Regions from separate parts of the Homo sapiens genome. Here region 2 is linked to region 1. Evidence: promoter capture Hi-C in 16 types of primary human blood cells and fetal thymus (Javierre and others, 2016). All regions are on one chromosome and are shown on one strand. Each heading gives the region's core, a stretch centred on a gene start or on the middle of the fragment in contact. The rest is flanking DNA. Distances are from core to core; before and after follow the strand shown. Region 1 holds the start of LACRT (lacritin). Region 2 has its middle 32 kb from the start of OR9K2.

The links. The method cuts DNA at HindIII sites, captures the fragments that hold promoters and counts their contacts. A CHiCAGO score of 5 or more calls a contact.
Region 2: a contact is called between a fragment that was not itself captured here and the fragment with the promoter of LACRT in region 1, in 1 of 17 cell types (activated CD4 T cells). The highest score is 7.4, in activated CD4 T cells.

The regions. Positions count from the first base shown.
Region 1 is chr12:54,632,200-54,637,803 of GRCh38, reverse strand. LACRT (lacritin) reads left to right here and starts at 2,909. Exons shown (of 5, transcript NM_033277.2): 1 at 2,909-3,020; 2 at 4,571-4,624; 3 at 5,423-5,563. The coding sequence starts at 2,963. The HindIII fragment of the contact is 2,380 bases long and covers 2,112-4,491 here.
Region 2 is chr12:55,155,577-55,161,180 of GRCh38, reverse strand. It overlaps the pseudogene OR9R1P. Among named protein-coding and RNA genes, the nearest start is that of OR9K2, 32 kb to the right of the region's middle. The HindIII fragment of the contact is 1,608 bases long and covers 1,912-3,519 here.

The DNA.
Region 1 (5,604 bases), core at 1,660-4,159:
TCTGAAACAGGGACCAGACAGAAGCTGCAGTCAGAGAGAAACAGCCATTGCCACACCATGCTGCATTAAGTATCCGTGGCTGTAAAAATTATTCAAACATTTGGTGGCTTCACACATGATTTCTTATCCACAGTTGTTATGGATCAGCAGTCCAGGTACAGATGCGCCCTCAGACACAGAGTCTCTAATGAGGCTGCAGTCAAGGTATCATCGAGGCTGCGGTCACCTCAAAACTCAGCTGAGGAAAGACCCACTTCCAAGCTCAGTCACGTGGTAGCTGGCAGGGTTGAGTTCCTCACAGATAGCTGGACTAAGGGCCTCGGCTCCTTACTGGCTACAGGCTGGAGGCTGTCCTCGGTTTCTTGCCACGTAGGTCTCTCCACAGGACAGCCTCACACATGGCCACTCACTTCATCAGAGCAAGCTGAGAAGATCCAGAGACAGAGTGTGTGTAAACAAGACTAAAGTCATAGTCTCAGAACTGACTACCTCATCACTTTGCCATCTTCTATTTGTTAGGAGTGAATCTCGAGACCCAGCCCAGTTAAGCAGAGGAAATTACAGCAGGGCACCAATGCCAAGACGTAGGCATCACCAGGAGCTATCTCTGAAGTCGTCCTACCACACATGCCAAAGCAAGAGAGGGAGCAGGAGGAACAAATGCCTTAATCTCTCCCTTTTCCCACCCTCCCATCTCCCACCTGTGTCTCCCATTGGCCAAACTCAACTCGAAGCTAGAGGGCATGGGAGCCCAGGTGATACAGCCCATAGAGGCATCCTTCCAGACCAGTGCAGAGATGAGAGAGAATAAACCTGAGGCAGAGGGGAGAGAGGTACAACGAGCAGCCCATGAGACAAGACACAGATCAGCGAACTGACAGTCATCATGGAGGTCAGATAACCTAGAAAACAAGACATCACACAGAGCAGCCCCTCACCCATATCCATGAGGTCCGTCAAGACATTGCACAGAGCAGCCTCTCACCCATATCCATGAGGTCTGCCTCTTTAATCTATGCACCCAATTCTTTCCCAGGCTCTATAATTTGGGGTAACATTTCTCTGGGCCCTGTTATAGAATAATGAAAATTTTCTATAAAACAAATGTCCTTACTTTCACCTCATCCCTATTTATGTAAATGCTTGCCTCTTTAATTACTGAGGCCAGGAGGAAGATTTGGGAGAGGAAAGGGCTATGCGGTGACATTTGGAAAGACCCTGCTCTGTGACAGTTCTAGTGTTGACGCCAAAGTTCTCATTTCCTCTTAGAAAAGTCTTGTGCAAATAGCATAATTTGCTCCTGTTGACTTTTTTAATGTGCTCATGGAGACTGCTCGGGATCTAGATCTGTTTGGGATCTGCAGGACTTCTCCTTCTGCAGTGTACACACACGTGCACACACGTATGTGCACATACCCAGGGCACTGGTGCCATCAAAACTTTCTCTTGTTCTTCAGCCTTCCCCATTCCAGGTAAGGCCACCACCACCTTCAAGGCTCCCAGGCCCAGACCCTCAGGCAGGTAGCAATTGCCAAGGCTTTAATGTCCCACCCCATTAATTTTATCTTCCTTTATCTCCTGAAAAGATTAATGTTCTAAACCCTGGCACCCAAAACACCCTCATGTTGAAAACTCTTCAATACCCCCTTCTCACACTCATCTTCAGAGCTACCATGAGGCAGAGAAGCCTCCGGAATCAGCCCACATGGGGCTGGGTGAATGCCAACACCAAGCAAGGGGAAAGTCACAAATTGACATCCAGCACCTTATTCTCCACCCTTCAGCCCCTCAACTGACTCCTGCTCCACGGCCCGTTCTATTAATATCTAGCATTTAGCACCAGCCTGGACAAAAACCTACTTGGAAAGATGGTACAAGAACCCCACACAACTCCATAGAACTTCGCTGTCTAAAAAAATGCTTTGCCGTATATTATCCCACTTAATCTCCACCACTATGCTGTACATAGGAGCCACAACTCCTAGACAACAAATAAAAATCCTATCACTTTTCAAATCCTAACATTTTCATATGACAAAGCCAGAACTCAAAATCCAGACCTCTAGAGTCCCAGATCAGGAAAGGAAGAAACGCCAAGTCAAAGAGAAGCTTCTTTAGAATAATCTGCTTTTCTGGATTATTCACACCATGGGTCAGCTCCCCACTTGAAGTCAGAACCAAGCTCCAATTTCAGTGAACCACCATCATGCTTTGACCAGGAGATTCTCTCAGAAATGTGGGGTCCCATTGAGTAGGCCTGAAGACAGAGATTGACAGGCCTATGTGAGCCTGGAGGAGTTCTTTTTAGGGGCTGGATAATGTCAAGAACAGAGAACAACTCCAGAGAAGGCACACACGCCTTCAAACCCATCCCCTCATGGGGAGAAAGCAGCCAGGAACTCAGGCCTCAAGTGTTCTAGGTGTGGTCTCCCAAGGAAACGGGCTCACTTAGTTTGGGGAAACCTTCAAACCCTGCACTGAGTCCTATGTAGACTGGGACAGAAGGTGGACAATGTAATCCCCTGAGCCCTCAACCTCCTCCTGGAGAGATGACAAGATTAAGATTTCTCTACCAGAACCCTCAACAGACACATCCCAGAATCTCCCCAAGTGAAATGTGCTCTACCTACCGTCCCTGAGAGCCCAGGGGTGTGAACCCAGAGGGCAGGTGTGGTGGGGAAGGGAGGAGGGAGAAAGAAAAGGGATGGCTGGGAGTTAGAGAAAGGCTCCTATCCAGGACCTGCCTGCAAGGATCCCAGGTATCAGCCAGCCCAACCTAGCCCTTGTTGACTTAGCAGGTGACAGTTTGGGGAAGAAGGGGAGGAGGATGCGGAAGTCACACCTCTCCAGGCTTGGTTCCCATTGGCCCTTGATATCCTTAAAAGGGCCCAGCAATTTCAGCATCCTTATTCCCCAGACCTTCTGCAGATTCTGTGGTTATACTCACTCCTCATCCCAAAGAATGAAATTTACCACTCTCCTCTTCTTGGCAGCTGTAGCAGGGGCCCTGGTCTATGCTGGTGAGTATGGCCTTTCCTCTGCGCCCCACAAGAGTCCTCCCAGTCCAAGGAGCCCCTCACTCCTGCCTTCACCCCTCTCCTCCTCTCTCAGTGCTATTCTGGTTTCCCTGCCTCTGCAAGTGACTCCTCTCCCAGTTCTCCACACGTGGCCTCTGCACCCCACTGGCCAGAGGAACCCAGAACTCTCTGGCCTCTGCCTGCCCTCCCAGCTCATCTCCTCACACACCATTGTTTACCCACTATGCCTCAGCTACACTGGCTTCTCTGGTGTCCCCTGCATGTAGTTGAGCAGGGTGTCCCCTACACGAGGGTGCCCAGGCAAGGAGTGGTAGAAGCTAAAATCTGGCCGACACTCTACTTGCCAAGCAGTGAGCCTGGCCCCTGGCTGTGTCTCTTAGGAGGAAGGGATGCCTTTTTTTTTTTTTTTTTTTTGAGACCGAGTCTCCCTCTGTTGCCCAGGCTGGAGTGCAGTGGCACGATCTCTGCTCACTGCAACATCCACCTCCTGGGTTCCAGCGATTATCTTGCCTCAGCCTCCTGGGTAGCTGGGACTACAGGCTCATGCCACCTTGCCCAGCTAATTTTGTATTTTTAGTAGAGACGGTGTTTCACCATGTTGGCCAGGTTGGTCTCGAACTCCTGACCTCAGGTGATCCGACTGCCTTGGCCTCCCAAAGTGTTGGAATTACAGGCGTGAGCCACCGTGCCCTGCTGGGATGCCTTTTTTGATCCACAGAAGCACTATTTGGGCCATGATGATCCTGCTGTTCCTTGAACATCAGGATCTTCCTTCTTGTCCTTTCCTCGTCTAGAATGCTTTCCCTCTCCCTGGCCCCTTCCCCCAACCAACTCTAATGTCACCTGGCCAATGATTTTTCATCTAGAAAATCTCAGTTTACATATAATTCCCCAAAAAGGCCTTCCATGCACATGCGGAACAAATCAGATCCATGTGCCCTTCTCGCACCAGGCTGCACGTTCCCTTCCAGCACTGTCACACCAGCCATTAAATAATTTCGTAAAAGGACAGATGTAAGCTCTGTCAGGGCAGGGGTCTTGTCTGCCCTCTTCAGCACTGCACCTCCATCTCTTGGCACAGAGCTTTGCATAAATGTTGTGTTGAAAGAATAAAGGGAATCAAGGCTGGGGTCTCAATCCTGCAAATCGCTCAAATATGGCCCCATAACCCCCACATACTGTCCTCCTCCACCACAGAGGAGGTTGAGCCCCTCTGACCATGGCCAGCTCCATGACAGACACCTCAGGGAAGCCTACCAAGCCAGGGGCCAGTCAGGAGGAAGGCACTGTTCCAAGAGACATTACACTTCTCAGAGGGGAAGTTATTTCAAAAGCCACAGGAGTTAAACATCAGAGAGTGCCCCAGTAGACCCGCTGATATGGTGGAAGGGCATGTCCAACCCAAAGGGAAATTGATCCCCTTCTATCCATGAGCATTCCCAGGAGATAAGCTTTGGGAATGGGAGGGGAGGGTGGCTCGAGTAGGTCCGGTTCGGTCCTTGCTCTCATCTGGCATGTTTCCCCCATTGCAGAAGATGCCTCCTCTGACTCGACGGGTGCTGATCCTGCCCAGGAAGCTGGGACCTGTGAGTCCTCCTCTCCCTGCTGCCCTAGCCCTCGTTGGGAAGGTTTAACAGTTAGGGATGTGAGTGGTGGCTGGGAGAAGAAGCCAGTGGGAGGAGATCTGGATTCTGTGCTTGGTGGTAATGGGGAGGGGCAGGTAATATAATAAAGAAGGTGGCATGGGTTGAAATGGTACAAGGCTAAGGACAAAAGAGGATGACCCAGAGAGGCAAGGACAATAGGGAGCATGGGGAAAAGGTTATTGTGAATAAAAGGGAGAGAAACATGAGGTTAAGTGGTAAGGGCAATGTCTCACATGGCATTAATACCTTCACCTGCAAACACCTCCCATTACTCCCAATTCCTTAGCAAGATAACCATTATCTGGCCTCTAACCTCATTTTCCAACCCCATTTTCCATGACTCTCTTTTATGTCGCACCCACATCAGCTAAATTGAACTTGTTTCCATTCCCCACACATGCCTTCGCCTGACCTCTTACTCACTGCCTGCCCCCAGGGAAGCCCCTTTGGTACATCCTCTCCTGCTAACATCCTGCCTTCAAGATCCAGCTTCTCTATGAAGTGCTCCCCGATTCTCACCATCCCCTAGTCCAAATCCTTCCCCAACCCTGCCCGCTGCATTCCAAGAGACACACAGCATGCAGAAATGCTATCTCCCTTAAGGGGGCAGCGTTTAAGCCATATCACTTCTGTATCCTGGCACCCAGCACACATTAGGTATCCTGGGGCCCTGCAACCCATTCCAAAAGAAACAAACACTTTCACTTTGCTAAAATCCATCAATTTGTGCATTCACAGCTAAGCCTAATGAAGAGATCTCAGGTCCAGCAGAACCAGCTTCACCCCCAGAGACAACCACAACAGCCCAGGAGACTTCGGCGGCAGCAGTTCAGGGGACAGCCAAGGTCACCTCAAGCAGGCAGGAACTAAACCCCCTGAGTAAGTCTCTGTCTCTATGCCAGATCAACAACCTAGAAAAG
Region 2 (5,604 bases), core at 1,466-3,965, 520 kb before region 1:
ATAACTAGATATTACACCATCAACTACTTTGAAAATAATGATATAGAACTCAAAATTCTAATGGTATAAAGTCAAACCACTGGCAAATTTAATTAAGGGACAAAAATAAAATTCTCAGGATTAAAAATAAAAAGTATATATAACCAAAGACATAGAAAGGATTAAATTATTAGAAAATAAAATTTAGGATATTAATATTTTCTTTTATTATGTCAATTAAAATTTATGATTTGGTTATTTGGCTTTACTATGTTAATATTTTTATTATTAATCTGAGAAAATATTTTACACATGGTAATAATTGTTCAAATCTAGAATAAAATAAAAATTTTCAAATCAATATATAAATTATAAAAGTGATGCAAGAACATACATAAAAGTTAATAGATCAATAAGCATAAATTATACTGATTATTTATCAAACATTTATTATTGAACCCCATGACAAGATAGTTTTACCGCAACTATATCACATTTATTTATTTATTTACTTATTTTTCTTCTGGATGAAATCATTAATATAGGTGGATGCTTTAGCAATATTACTGGTATAATATTTAGCCTTGCTCCTTTGCATAATGGTTTGGCAAAGCCAATAATTTACATTATATAATTTAGATTACCATAGCATTTCTAATTCTCATTTGCAAAAGTTGTACAATAGCCAACTTGATTATGATCTAGATTAAACAAATATTGAAGAACGTTAAGTAGTGTCTCTCTTTTTCCCTCTCCAATAGATTAGTATATAGATATTCATACATATATAGATATATTAATAAACTTAACGTGTATTTATGTATTAATTTGTGAATACTGTATTTCAGTTGCAGTTTTGAGTACAACTAAGACAATGAAGCAAGAATAACAAACTATGGAATACCTAGACAGCACACCATAAAATAATTATGTTGAAATATGAAAAATCTATATTGATTTTTAGTTCCTTTTGTTTTGTTTTTTTTTTTTGAGATGGAGTCTCGCTCTGTTGCCAGGGTGGAGTGCAGTGCCACGATCTCGGCTCACTGCAACCTCCGCCTCCTGGGTTCAAGTGATTCTCCTGCCTCAGCCTCCCGAGTAGCTGGGACTGCAGGTGCGTGCCACCACGCCCAGCTAATTTTTTGTATTTTTAGTAGAGACGCGGTTTCACCATGTTGGCCAGGATGGTCTCGATCTCCTGACCTCATGATCCACCCCCCTCGGTCTCCCTAAGTGCTGGGATTACAGGTTTGAGCCACCACGCCTGGCCTTTAATTCATTTTTAAAAGGATCTGTTGATGGTCAAAACACGAAAATAAACTTTCATCTCCATACTTTCAGATGTTTTTCTTTGAAATTATTCTATAATAAATTACTGATAGTATTGCTCTTAGTTGCTTCTATAGTTTTATAGATGGCTAGAGGCCAATGAAAAGATATTTTTCTTATCAATGTCCTTTTCAAAGCATTTTGCACCTATTTCTTAGACTATAAATCAGATATTTAACATAGGGATGACAAGAGTTTAGAATACAACTATAACCTTGCTCTTTGGAGATGGCCCCAGGTTGGGCATACATGAAGAATACAGTTCCATAGAATAAACTCACCACAGTGATGTGAGAGCTGCAAGTGGAGAAAGTCTTCCTTCTGCCGTGGGTTGAGAGAATCTTCAGGACAGTGGAGAGGATATGCACATAGGAAGCCAGAATGACAGTTGTGGTGGTGGTGATGAGAGCAGAGAGAATAAACAGTACTACCTCATTCACAAGGATGTCAATACATGAGATCTTGATCATGACTGAGACATCACAGAAAAAGTGCTCTAATCTGTTTTCTCCACAGAAATGCAAACTGAAGGTAAAACCTGTTTGTATCATGGAGTTGATGCATCCACAGATAGAGGAGCCAACCACCAAACAAACACAAGCTTGCTGAGACATACATACAGTATAGAAGAAAGGTGAACAAATAGCTGAGAAGCGATCATATGCCATCATATCCAGAAAAAAACCTTCAGTCCCAACAAAGAGAGCAAAGAAAAACAACTGTGTTGCTCAACCATTGTAAGAAATTTTCTTTTCCTTGGAAAATAAAGTAGTCAGTTTTGGAAGCAATAACTGTGGAGTAGCGGAGATCCAAATAGGACAAATTTCTGAGAAAGAAATACACAGGTGTGTGAAGTCTGGAGTCTATTTCAATGACAACTAACATGCTGAGATTTCTCAACACAATGACCATGTAGATAAGCAAGAACAGGAAGAATAAGAGAATCTGTGCTTCTGGCGATGTTCTGAATCCCAGCAGAATAAACTCTGTCACCTCTGAGTAATTCCTGTTCAGTTCGCTCTTCATAGCCAAGACCTATCTGAGAAAAATGAGTGGATTATAATGAAGCCTGGTCAACTTTTGGTCCCTGAAGTTGCCAACGGGAAAAAACAGACAAAAAAACGCTGATACAAATTGGAGTTTTCTTGGCAGTGCATCTGATAGAATAGTTTTACATTTAGAAGCAACCACAGTAAAATCAAAATAAGGTTATTTAGGTTTTTCCCGTCTATTTAGTTTTAGTATTATGTGAGAAATTTGAATGGGCACGGGATATTTCCAGCAGTAAATTATCAGTCATTTTATGCTGTTTGTGAAGAGCTTTGGAGTCATATGGGCTGCATCCAAATTTTACATCTTTCAGTATGAAAGAATCTAAGATAACCATCTACACTTTTGATACCTCAGAAGTCCTCCTCTGCCAAATGGGAGGCACCTGTGAAGATTACACAAAATTGAGTGTGAAAAGCAATATTTATAATGACACAAACATCTTAAAAACATACACGTCAGTGAAATAAATAAAAAAACAAACACAAAGTTTCTTGTGCTCTAAGAATGGAAAACTGAGTGAAAACATAGGTCAATTCCTTTCCCCACTACAAGATAATTAATGCAGTTAATTTGGTTCTTAAAACATTCTGCTACATAGAAGACATTAGGAAACATGGGGTTATAGTTTAATGAGGTAGAATGAACCACTAGTCTTGAGAATGTCATTCAAAATAATAAATCAGACTCTTATCCCCTACATTAACCACATATTGTTCAGCTTCCAGGTCCTTCATTTACTATTAGTGTCTGAATGCTGGTGGCTCCCTTTTCTGGCACCCAAACTGCAGCATGCCTTTTCTTTTTACTGCCATAGACATATGAATTATTTTGTTTATATAGGAACACTATGGTTAGGTATAAGATTAACTTCCCCAACAAGAAATGTTTTCCCCTCTATATATTGTTAACAAAGCACAAGACAATAATGCAAATAAGTGTGGGGGGAGGGGGTGGAAATTCTGTATTGCATGGGTTCTGTTTTTTGTATTTTTCTAACTATTAATGCTTAATAGTAAATACTAAAGAGGCACAGAGATAAAACATTAATAATTTTTAAGATATCTAAAACATTAAATTAAAGTGGAAAAAATAAATTTTATATTATAAATCAATGGTTTTATTACTACATTTAATTTCTGAATTAGCAAAAGAGAAGCTTTTTCTGTCTAGAAACTTAATATATTTGAAGTTACATAGTTTTATTTAGAAATTTTCATAAAATTGAGGAGCCAAGATGGCGGAATAGGAACAGCTCCGGTCTACAGCTCCCAGCGTGAGCAACGCAGAAGAGGGGTGATTTCTGCATTTCCAACTGAGGTACTGGGTTCATCTCACAGGGGAGTGCCAGACAGTAGGTGCAGGACAGTGGGTGCAGCGCACCATGCGTGAGCCGAAGCAGGGCGATGTATCGCCTCACCTGGGAAGCGAAAGGGGTCAGGGAATTCCCTTTCCTAGTCAAAGAAAGGGGTGACAGATGGCACCTGGAGAATTGGGTCACTCCCACCCTAATACTGTGCTTTTCCAACAGGCTTAAAAAATGGCACACCAGGAGATTATATCCCGCACATGGCTTGGAGGGTCCTACGCCCACAGAGTCTCACTCATTGCTAGCACAGCAGTCCCAGATCAAACTGCAAGGTGGCAGCCAGGCTGTGGGAGGGGCGCCCACCATTGCCAAGTTAGTTGTTTGATTAGGTAAACAAAGCAGCCTGGAAGCTCGAACTGGGTGGAGCCCACCACAGCTCAAGGAGGCCTGCCTGCTTCTGTAGGCTCCACCTCTCAGGGCAGGGCGCAGACAAACAAAAAGACAGCAGTAACCTCTGCAGACTTAAATGTACCTCTCTGACAGCTTTGAAGAGAGTAGTGGTTCTCCCAGCATGCAGCTTGAGATCTGAGAACAGGCAGACTGCCTCCTCAAGTGGGTCCCTGAACCCCGAGTAGCCTAACTGGGAGGCACCCCCCAGTAGGGGCGGACTGACACCTCACACAGCCAGGTACTCCTCTGAGACAAAACTTCCAGAGGAATGATGAGACAGCAGCATTTGCAGTTCACCAATATATGCTGTTCTACAGCCACCGCTGCTGATACCCAGGCAAACAGGGTCTGGAGTGGACCTCTAGCAAACTCCAACAGACCTGCAGCTGAGGGTCCTGTCTGTTAGAAGGAAAACTAACAAACAGAAAGGACATCCACACCAAAAACCCATGTGTACGTCACCATCATCAAAGACCAAAGGTAGATAAAACCACAAAGATGGGAAAAACACAGAGCAGAAAAACTGGAAACTCTAAAAATCAGAGCACCTCTCCTCCTCCAAAGGAACGCAGCTCCTCACCAGCAACAGAACAAAGCTGGACGGAGAATGACTTTGACGAGTTGAGAGAAGAAGGCTTCAGATGATCAAACTACTCCGAGCTACAGGAGGAAATTCAAACCAATGGCAAAGAAATTAAAAGCCTTGAAAAAAAATTAGATGAATGGATAACTAGAATAACCAATGCAGAGAAGTCCTTAAAGGACCTGATGGAGCTGAAAACCAAGGCTCGAGAGCTACGTGATGAATGCAGAAGCCTCAGTAGCCGATGAGAACAACTGGAAGAAAGGGTATCAGTGATGGAAGATGAAATGAATGAAATGAAGCGAGAAGAGAAGTTTAGAGAAAAAAGAATAAAAAGAAATGAACAAAGCCTCCAAGAAATATGGGACTGTGTGAAAAGACCAAATCTATGTCTGATTGGTGTAATTGAAAGTGATGGGGAGAATGGAACCAAGTTGGAAAACACTCTGCAGAATATTATCCAGGAGAACTTCCCCAATCTAGCAAGGCAGGCCAACATTCAAATTCAGGAAATACAGAGAATGCCACAAAGATATTCCTCGAGAAGAGCAACTCCAAGACACATAGTTGTCAGATTCACCAAAGTTGAAATGAAGGAAAAAATGTTAAGGGCAGCCAGAGAGAAAGGTTGGGTTACCCACAAAGGGAAGCCCATCAGACTAACAGCGGATCTCCCGGCAGAAACTTTACAAGCCAGAAGAGAGTGGGGGCCAATATTCAACATTCTTAAAGAAAAGAATTTTCAACCCAGAATTTCATATCTAGCCAAACTAAGCTTCATAAGTGAAGGAGAAATAAAATACTTTAAGACAAGCAAACGCAGAGAGATTTTGTCACCACCAGGCCTGCCCTACAAGAGCTCCTGAAGGAAGCACTAAACATGGAAAGGAACAACTGGTACCAG